Linked DNA regions of Homo sapiens: region 1 is linked to region 2. Evidence: promoter capture Hi-C in human tissues and cell types (Jung and others, 2019). All regions are on one chromosome and are shown on one strand. The core of a region is centred on a gene start or on the middle of the fragment in contact, and the rest is flanking DNA. Distances in the headings are between cores, read along the strand shown. Region 1 overlaps NEBL (nebulette). Region 2 holds the start of PLXDC2 (plexin domain containing 2).

Evidence for each region. Contacts are between HindIII fragments. The study calls those that stand out against the background at their distance.
Region 1: a contact is called between a fragment that was not itself captured here and the fragment with the promoter of PLXDC2 in region 2, in 1 of the 25 tissues and cell types used here (lymphoblastoid cells).

The regions. Positions count from the first base shown.
Region 1 is chr10:20,830,539-20,835,634 of GRCh38, forward strand. NEBL (nebulette) reads right to left here. Exons shown (of 28, transcript NM_006393.3): 14 at 4,975-5,085; 15 at 935-1,045; 16 at 658-768. Among named protein-coding and RNA genes, the nearest start is that of NEBL, 64 kb to the right of the region's middle. The HindIII fragment of the contact is 3,953 bases long and covers 544-4,496 here.
Region 2 is chr10:19,813,423-19,817,896 of GRCh38, forward strand. It overlaps PLXDC2 (plexin domain containing 2), which reads left to right and starts at 3,010. Exons shown (of 14, transcript NM_032812.9): 1 at 3,010-3,769. The coding sequence starts at 3,658. LOC124902388 (a long non-coding RNA gene) reads right to left here and starts at 2,806. Exons shown (of 2, transcript XR_007062078.1): 1 at 980-2,806. RefSeq lists an enhancer at 1,934-2,699. The HindIII fragment of the contact is 14,250 bases long and covers 1-4,474 here.

The DNA of each region.
Region 1 (5,096 bases), core at 1,270-3,769, 1.0 Mb after region 2:
AAACCTCACTGTTCCCTTAATTTTTACCTAACACTAAACTTCACTTTATACCTTGTGCAGCTTTAGCCACTGTTAGCTTTATTTGGAACTATTTTAATATTAATATTCATTATGAAATGGTTAAAAGACAAAACGTTTGTAATTTATTTTTCTGTAGTATTAGCAAAAGCATTTGAGCCAAGTGTCCAATAGGGTCAAAAAAAAAAAAAGAAAGAAAGAAAAGGTTAAAATATCCTTGGGCTGGGCACAATGGCTCATGCCCACTGAGGCAGGAAGATAAGCTTGAGCCCAGGAGTTTGAGGCTGCAGCAAGCTATGATGGTGCCACTGCATTCCAGCCTGGGTGAAAGAGTGAGACCTCCATCTCTAAAATTTAAAAAAAAAAAAAAAAAAAAAAAGGTTTAATGTCCTTGGACTCAAAACAAGGAGCCCCGACAGAGAGGCTGTAGCTCTCCATAATGTCTGTTGCATTGAATCTATGACTGTTGTCCTATTAATTAGTACGGTTAATCAAGTTTGGCCAATGGTTTCTTAGTGAAAGAGTACACTAGCTCTGAATGCAATGCCCTCAGAAAGATATCATTCATAGAGACATACAAAGCACATGGCAACATGACATTGGAATACACGATTCTGAGCATCTTCATTCATGACCAACCTGGCTATAGATTTCAGATGTCCTCTTGGCTCGAAGGATATCTGGGATATCCATGCTCACTTGCATTCCTTTCCCTTTAATTTCATTTTCTAAGTCCTTCTTGTATTGTTTCTAAAAGAACAGAAAATAATCTTAGAGCTTTGCTTAAGCTTTAATAGCGATGTTGAAATTTACATGTTTGAATCTCAAAGCCACCCATGTGGAAAGAAAACTTATGCTCTTTCCAGCTATGATTCACGGCATTTATTTTAAACTTTGTATCTTGCTGCTGTCTTACCTGGCTGGCCATCTCGGATGCTTTCTTAGCTCTCTGGACATCAAGAGTGTCTGTGCTCACCTGCATCCCTTTCCCTTTAATTTCAGTCTCCAGATCTCTTTTATAGTCTTTCTGCAGAAAATGAAACATACAGTTAGTGCTCTCCAATCATTTGAGAAACTGCTCAAAAATCGAGATGTCATTTTGACATTAAGACCATGTCTTTTGGAATGAAGTTGAATCCTTATTTCTTTTATTTCTATAGAATAATAGAGTTTTTACTTGTGGTAGGAATACGACTTAGTATAACTTATTCACCAGTAATCAGAACAATTTTTTTCAGCTAATCTGAATTAAGAAGAAGAAAAAACACAGCTAGCCAAGGGGAAAATTTAACATTTCAATATGATAAACTTGATATATTATTGGGTCATATATGGCTTAGTTAAGTGTCAGTCAAGAGTGATTGTAAAATTGCTGTTTTTCACTCTGTAGTGAATAAGTGTTGGTTGCTTCTCTGGAATCCACCCCTTTTTTCCCCTTCATTGGCTCCCTAATTTGCCACTAGACAACTCAATGTTCCCACTCCTAAACCATCCAGCTTCGGTGAGACTGGCTCAAATCTCTGGACTTAGCTGGGCTTAAATAAATCATTATTCCCTTCACTGGCTCTCTGATTTGCCACTGGACAAGTCAATGTTCCCCACTCCTAAACCATCCAGAAACTGGCCCAAGTCTCTGGGATCTGCTGGACTCAATAAATCATTATACCCCATCACCCACACTGCAGAATTGGTTCTGGGATGCATGCATCTTTTTTTCCATATAAGAGCTGCTGGAAGCCTCTTTGCAAACAAGAATGTCTACCTAAGAACTGCAAGCTGAAACTATATCTCATTATTTGAGTCCTAGATCAAGCCGTGCCTAGGAATTTCTCTACTATTCAATCATAAGAACAACAAATAAGTTATCTCTGTTTTTTTTTTAAGCCAGTGGGAAATGGATTACCAATTGCTTACAAGATAGTCATAATTACATAGACACACATGTCTTTAGGGACTTCTGTCACATTTGAAAACTGATTATAAAATTCAGAAAGCTGTACATATATAAATTTGCTTTTTCTATATGTATATTATTCTTCAAAGAAAAATGTTATTAAAAAAAACTATTAACTATAGCCAATTAAATTTGCTTTAAAACAATTATTTCTTATTATGCTGACACACTCCAGATTTGTAGATTCTCTGCTGCAAAGTAAATGTTGATTTGCTTATTAGGAGATCCTCAAATTTAGGTAAGTGGTAAACAAAAATCTCAGTCTTGGAGTATTTTGCCTCCTATCTTCCACTCATAATCCTTCCTGTTTTTACTGACTTACACTCCCAGTATCACTTTTCTAAATAAAAGTTTACATAATTATGTTTAACTTTCAAAATATTAATATTCAATTATTACTATGTCTACAAAAAGCACTCTGTTTTAGTCAGCCTGTTCAAAGCCCCAAAATGAAATGTTTCATTTGAAGGCCAACAAATATGATGAAACTGAGGCACTGATAACAGACAGCCACCAAGGTCTGATGGTAAAAGGATGTAACAATTTTTTAATATGAACTTTCAAATGTAAATGTGTTCTAAAGCACATAGACTACATTAGACACCCTTTGCATCAGTTATTTGTTGTCTGCATAACAAAACACACCAAAACTTAGCAGGTTTAAAACAACATGGCGGCATCTACATTCCAAGAGGGCAAACCCTAATGCAGAAGTGTGTTTATAGTCTGAGTCACATTTGCTGATGTCTCATTGGCTAAAGAAAGTCACATGGTCAAGCCCAGAGATATGGGAAGGCTTGACTCTTGAGGGTCATTTGTGTCACAATAAGATCCATTGACTTTATTTGAAAAATAAACTTTTGATATTAAAAATAAACTATGGCAAAGTCCCGAACATTGGTTGAAAATGATCTGAGCCTGTCATTTAGGCAAAATGGGACATGACTATGATTATATGCAAATGAGATTTTTATTATTATTATTTGGGGGGTTTTTATTGACTAAGATTCTCAGCCTGAGAGTGGAGACTTCACCAGAGCCACGTGAATCAATTTACACTGGATGTGACTGGAAACCATTAAAGAATTGCATGTGAGGAGAGTAACAAAATTTCATTTAATTGCCTCAAGGATTCTTCTCCTGCTGGGTTAAGAATGTCTACTAGGACCCTGGAGGCAGAGCTTGCAGTGAGCCGAGATTGCACCACTGCACTCCAGCCTGGGCGACAGAGCGAGACTCCGTCTCAAAAAAAAAAAAAAAGAAAAAAAGAATGTCTACTAGGAAGGCAATAATAGCAGAATTCTGGTTAGGAAGCTATGGCAATGATCTAGAGGATAGAGATAGTGGCTTAGGACTAGGGTGGCAAGAAAGATGGATTTAGACCACCACTATGGGGGTGGCATCAATAAAGTATGCTGATGACAGGAATCAAAGTGACTTCTATGCTTTGGTTGGCGCCATTTGAAGATTGGGGAAAGCTAACCTAGGGGAAAATTAGGGATTCTAGTTTTGGCCTGTAACGTTGAGATCCCATTATACATTTCCCTTGCAGACAACAAAAGATAAATGGTCACATATTCACATCCATGTTACAGAACACTTAATTTTTCTATAAGAATGAGGTAGACCTATATGAAGGAACATGGAAAAAAATCCTTAATATAAAGTGAGAAAACAATCAACCACTTAAATGGGGTCTGACCCCATTTAAGATTTTTTTAAGTCGCTGTGTGTACATGTGTATGTTTATCTATATAAACACAAAATAGATTTGGAAGGTTCCATAACAAACTTATAACAATGACTATCTCTCAGGACGAGAACAGAAGTAGGAAAGGGATAAAGCAGGTTTTCAAGTTCCTCATGCTCCTGGCCGTCCACCCCTGGCCACCACTTCAAAATGGAACACTTATTGATCAGGAAACCTATACCATCTCCACTTCCTTTGTCTTATTCAATCATGGCAATCCCATTTCCCTGGCCAGTGCCTAACTCTGGGGATGTCAGTCATTTTCAAAACAACAGTAACTTCCCTAGCAGCTAAGCAGCTACCTCTGGCCTTCCAGATTTCCTGTAAGGTGTCAGTCCTGAGTCAGCTCTTCCTAAGTGCAAAGATCACACAACAGGTCTCAGGATACTCCACTGAAGCCCCCACCTAACCAACCTTGAGATAAGTGAACAGGACCCCTTCACCTGCACCCCGATTTTTTCTTCACATACACTTTTTATAAAATCATCACATCCCAAAGCTTCTTTACTCCAGTGATCCTTTTATATTCTCAGATTTTCTGGGGAAGTTCAAGAGGTGTAGAGAAAGTTCTAGGGTATTTCCTTTGAAAAATATGCATATGGTCTGACTCCTACAACCTTGTGATGTGATACCCAGCCTGTCACAGAATTTAAGACAAAACTTCTAAATCAATATCCTGTATCCCATGAAGAAAAAACTGGTGTTATCAGATGAATGAACATGGTCGTTCAGGTTATATCAGACCTCCATCCAAAATGCTGACTGTGTAGAAATTTCATGCGTGCTGATCATGTCAACAAAGGCTATTTTAAGAACATGCAATCAGACAGGAATGACTATTGTTCTCATGTAAAGTGTCCATATATGAAGTTCTGCTCAGAAATTTGGAAATACAGATATGCCAAGCAGCACATGATCCATTAAAAAATACCATGAAAACATTTATCATAGCCTAGATTACCATTAAATCTGTTGTATTCTGAAATAAGGTGTGCAGGGGAGTGCATGTGTGCATGTGTGTCTGTTCAATTAAAATGCCTTCCACCAAGCTTTCTTGATATATTGGAAGGATATGAGCAAAGCAAAAACTGTAATTTTTCAAACTGGCATAATGCTTCGGAATAGTCTCCATTCCAAACTGTTAAACCAGCTGCAATGCTTTGAGAAATTCCATATAGTAATCAAGTTGCTAATACGATTTGTTAGGTTCCAAAATATGAGTCTTAAGGCCTGCATCACGCACCCTACTAACCTCACTCGCTATCTCTGCAGCCTTCTTGGCATGCTGCATTTCAAGGGTGTCAGTGCCAGCTTGCATTCCTTTCCCTTTAATTATTGACTCCAGGTCTTTCTTGTATTCTTTCTGCAAAAGAC
Region 2 (4,474 bases), core at 1,760-4,259:
AACATACTGTCCTACATACATTTTATTTATTCGTTCCTTGCTACAGTGTAAAGGCAGAATATACTTTAAAAAAATAATCATTCATCAACATTTAAGGCAAATGATCAGAGCTTGAGTTTATTGTTATACAATGTTGCTCTTTCTTCTTTATTTCTGAACAGCAAATCTCATCAAGCATGATTGAGTTTTGCTTACTTGTATCTTCTCCCTTACTTCCGCATTTACTATGTGTATAGCTCTTCAGAATAAAATTAAGATAGGAGTAAACCAATACAATTCAGCAGCATCAGTGACATAACCAAACATATAAAAGTCCTTCCTGACTGACCCTGAATGACCATTTACCCCCTTTCAAATTTTGACATCAAATTTCTACTTACAAAAAGTATATAGTTTCAATCAGGTGGTCAAAGCATTGATGACCGCAAGTAACAAGAAAAATGAACCCTGCGAATACGCACATAAAATAATAAAGGAAAAAAGAAAGAAAATGATAGCAAGGAGAGGTGGAGATTTGCTTGTTCTCAGAGGAGGAAACACCTATTTTTCTACTGTGAAAGAAGGAGAAATAACTCGGTCTGAAAAAAGAGGTGCTTTCTTGAAATGGTTTCCGCTGGATTCCCCATTATTTTAGATATGATGGGAGCTGGAGTTGTGCAGAATATTTTGGGACGCTTTCCGCATGGATTTATGATCCTCAAAAAGAATCGGCATCAATTAAACTATAGTTGACCCTTGAACAGTATGGGGGTCAGGGGGACGGACCCCCACACAGTAGAAAATTAATGTATAATTTCGACTCCTCATAAACTTAACTGCTAATACCCTACTGTTGATTAGAAGCATTACTGATAATATAAAAACAGTTGATTAACACATATTTGGTATGTTCTACATATTACATACTGTATTCTTAAAATAAAGTAAGCTAGAGAAAAGAAAATGTTAAGAAAATCATAAGGAAGATAAATATACTTACTGTTTATTAAGTGGAAGTGGATCATCAGAAAGGCTTTCATCCTCATCGTCTTCACATTGAGTGGGCTGAAGCGGAGGAAGAGGAGGGGTTAGTCTTGCTCTGTTAGGGGTGGCAGAGGAGGAAGAAAATCCATGCAAAAGCGGATCCTCGCAGTTCAAACCCCTGTTGTTCAAGGGTCAACCGCACAATCAGGTTTTGATGAGAAGACTCAGTTTTCAAACTTGATTTTAAGCAGGTATATATCCGGGTACTCAAATTCGGATGTAATATTACATAGAACTTAAACACTCCTAGTTAAGCAGAAATAGAAAAACCCAGTTACCTAAGTAGAAATCAACCTATGGGAGGAAAGCTCAGGAAAGAGCCAGGGTCCTGGCATAATAAAGAGTATAGGCATGATATATGTTTGTGTTTATACGTGTATATCTGTTGTTTGGAAATAAAGAGCAAATTGAGTATTGGATTAAGGGAAACCTTTCTTGTTTCCCATGAGAGAGCCGTCCTTTGAGCATCACATTTGCAAAGGTAGATTGATTATCCGGATCCACTTCCAGTGGGTTTTGTGGCAAGCCGAGACATCTATTGACAGCATCCATAGACTCTTCAGAGCTTGGAGTGGAAAGGACCTTGAACTTAGAACACATGCACATTTATTATGTGATTGAAGTCGTCTTCTCTCACTTTTGCTTCAGTAAACACTTAAACAAAGCCATGTACTTTGCGGTAGGCAATGTTCTATATTTATTAAATATACAGTTAACTCATCCAATCCATTGCAACCACCTTATAAGGGCGTTACTCTAATTCTCTCCATTTGATGGATGGATAACTGAGGCTAGGAGATAAACTGCTCATTGCGGGGGAGGTGAAATTCCAGCCCAGGCTGTCCGGGCTCTAGATCCTGTACTTTTAACCAATAGCGCTTTGCTTCTTTTCCTTGTATTTATCCCTTTCAAAAATGATTAACTGTATGCAAAATAAGATATCAACTAACGAGAGGGCCGGCAAGGGTTAACGCGGAAACAGATCCCCGAGCTGAAAAAACAAAAACAAACTGGGGAGCCAGAGCCCCTGAAAGCTCCGGTAGGAAATTCAATGGGCCTCCTGTTCCTTTAAACTCTCGCTTTCGCCCCCGCTGACACTTTGCAAAGCCGCGGCGGCAGCGGCGGGGACCACGCTGCGGTGCACCACCTTCCGCCACCCTCCCGCGCTGGGCTGGGGTCGAGGGGGCTTCGCAGAGTCGGTAACCGAACCGGCTCTGGTTTGCTTTCTCCACTCCCTAGCCACTACCAGAACCAGCCTCCGCGAAGGGGCGAGCTGTGGTTAACCCTTTCGTGCCCAGGGAGACCCCGCCAGGGTCGGGGCGGGGCGCGATCGCCCCCCGCAGTCGGGCGCGAAGGCGGCCCGGGAGCCAGGTGGGTGTGGGGCGCAGTTGGCGGAGCTGCCCAGGGCGTGCGAGCAGGCTGCGAGGATGGCGCCCCGGCGGCGCGGAGGTACCGCCCCGCGCTCCCCCGATAGCTCCCCGGCCTGTCCCCTCTCCCCGCGCTCTGGGGCAGCCGGCTGCCTGGGGCGCACGGGGCTGGAGTGGCCCTCTCCCTCCCCTTCGCTAGGCTCCCCCGGCTTAATCTGTTGGCCGCGACTCCTCAGCCAGCCCCGAGGAAAGTGCAGCCATTGGACAGGTCTGTGCGGGCTGCCGGTTTCAGGGAGGAAGGTGGGAGAAGCCTGGAGGAGCGAAGGGGAGGGCGGAGGGAGGAGGGAGGAGGGTGCGGCGGCAGATCTGGCAAATTGCGAGCTGCCTTCCCTCCTCAAAGTGTGGAGAAGGAGCGCGGGGGAGCGTGGCGACGGCAGCGCCTCCTCCGCCACCAAACTCCTGGGGCTCCGCGGGGGCTTGGGGCCACCTCCTCCTGAGCCCGGAGGAACCCTCTCCCGATAGGTTCCAGCGTGACTCCCTCCCACTCCACCCTTTTCCTTTCTTCTTCCTCTTTTTTTTTTTTTTTTTTAAACACATTTTTTTCCTGGCTTCGGACCTCAGACTGCTGCAGCCCTAACCTTCCCAGGGCTCAGCTCTTTGGAGCTGCCCATTCCTCCGGCTGCGAGAAAGGACGCGCGCCCTGCGTCGGGCGAAGAAAAGAAGCAAAACTTGTCGGGAGGGTTTCGTCATCAACCTCCTTCCCGCAAACCTAAACCTCCTGCCGGGGCCATCCCTAGACAGAGGAAAGTTCCTGCAGAGCCGACCAGCCCTAGTGGATCTGGGGCAGGCAGCGGCGCTGGCTGTGGAATTAGATCTGTTTTGAACCCAGTGGAGCGCATCGCTGGGGCTCGGAAGTCACCGTCCGCGGGCACCGGGTTGGCGCTGCCCGAGTGGAACCGACAGTTTGCGAGCCTCGGCTGCAAGTGGCCTCTCCTCCCCGCGGTTGTTGTTCAGTGTCGGGTGAGGGCTGCGAGTGTGGCAAGTTGCAAAGAGAGCCTCAGAGGTCCGAAGAGCGCTGCGCTCCTACTCGCGTTCGCTTCTTCCTCTTCTCGGTTCCCTACTGTGAAATCGCAGCGACATTTACAAAGGCCTCCGGGTCCTACCGAGACCGATCCGCAGCGTTTGGCCCGGTCGTGCCTATTGCATCGGGAGCCCCCGAGCACCGGCGAAGGACTGGCGGGTGGGGTAGGGAGGTGGCGGCGGCGGCATGGCGAGGTTCCCGAAGGCCGACCTGGCCGCTGCAGGAGTTATGTTACTTTGCCACTTCTTCACGGACCAGTTTCAGTTCGCCGATGGGAAACCCGGAGACCAAATCCTTGGTAAGTAAGATGCACTTTAGCTTGCTGATTTTGTGCGCAGCTGAAGACCTCTCTGGCACTCTCGTGCTCCCTACCCTCTCCCCCCAACATCACCTATCTGCCCTTGGGAAACTTATTGCAGTTGCTTTTCGGCTAAACTTAGGCTTCCCAAATGGGGAAAGAGGGTTATCAAGAGAAGGACGCCGGGGACTAGGGGTTTTCTTGAGGCTTTCGGGCTTACTTCACCTGGGCGGCAGGGGGTGGTACTGTCTCCCCAAAGTAGCCCAGGGAGGGCTTCAGTGTGAGAGCAAAGCTTCTTCCGTGGATACATCTCCTAGGACCTGGCATCTCCAGGCTGTGTGCTCTCCGGCTCCTCCTCCTTCCTCGCTGCTGGTTAAACTAAGCGTGTGTGGTATGGGGTGGGTGGGGGACGTTGTGAAAGCCAGGGATTGCAGGTCTCCCCTCTGCACGAGAAAATTCCCTGTGGCAGCACCTTCCTTCCCCTGGCGATCCCCACTAGCTCCGTCTAGTGACCTGGGCCAAGCGGGCGCTGGAAGGGGGGCGGGGTAAATGCGGCCGGCGCAGAGGTGGGGAGCAGGTGGGAAAGGTGGAGGCGGGCTCGCCTCTGGAGACCTACCCCTGCTCCCATTGTCCTCCGCCTGCCAGCTTCACAGACAGGCCTGAACGCGCAGAGAGTTCCTTGGAGTGCCCTGATTTTGTCCCCGA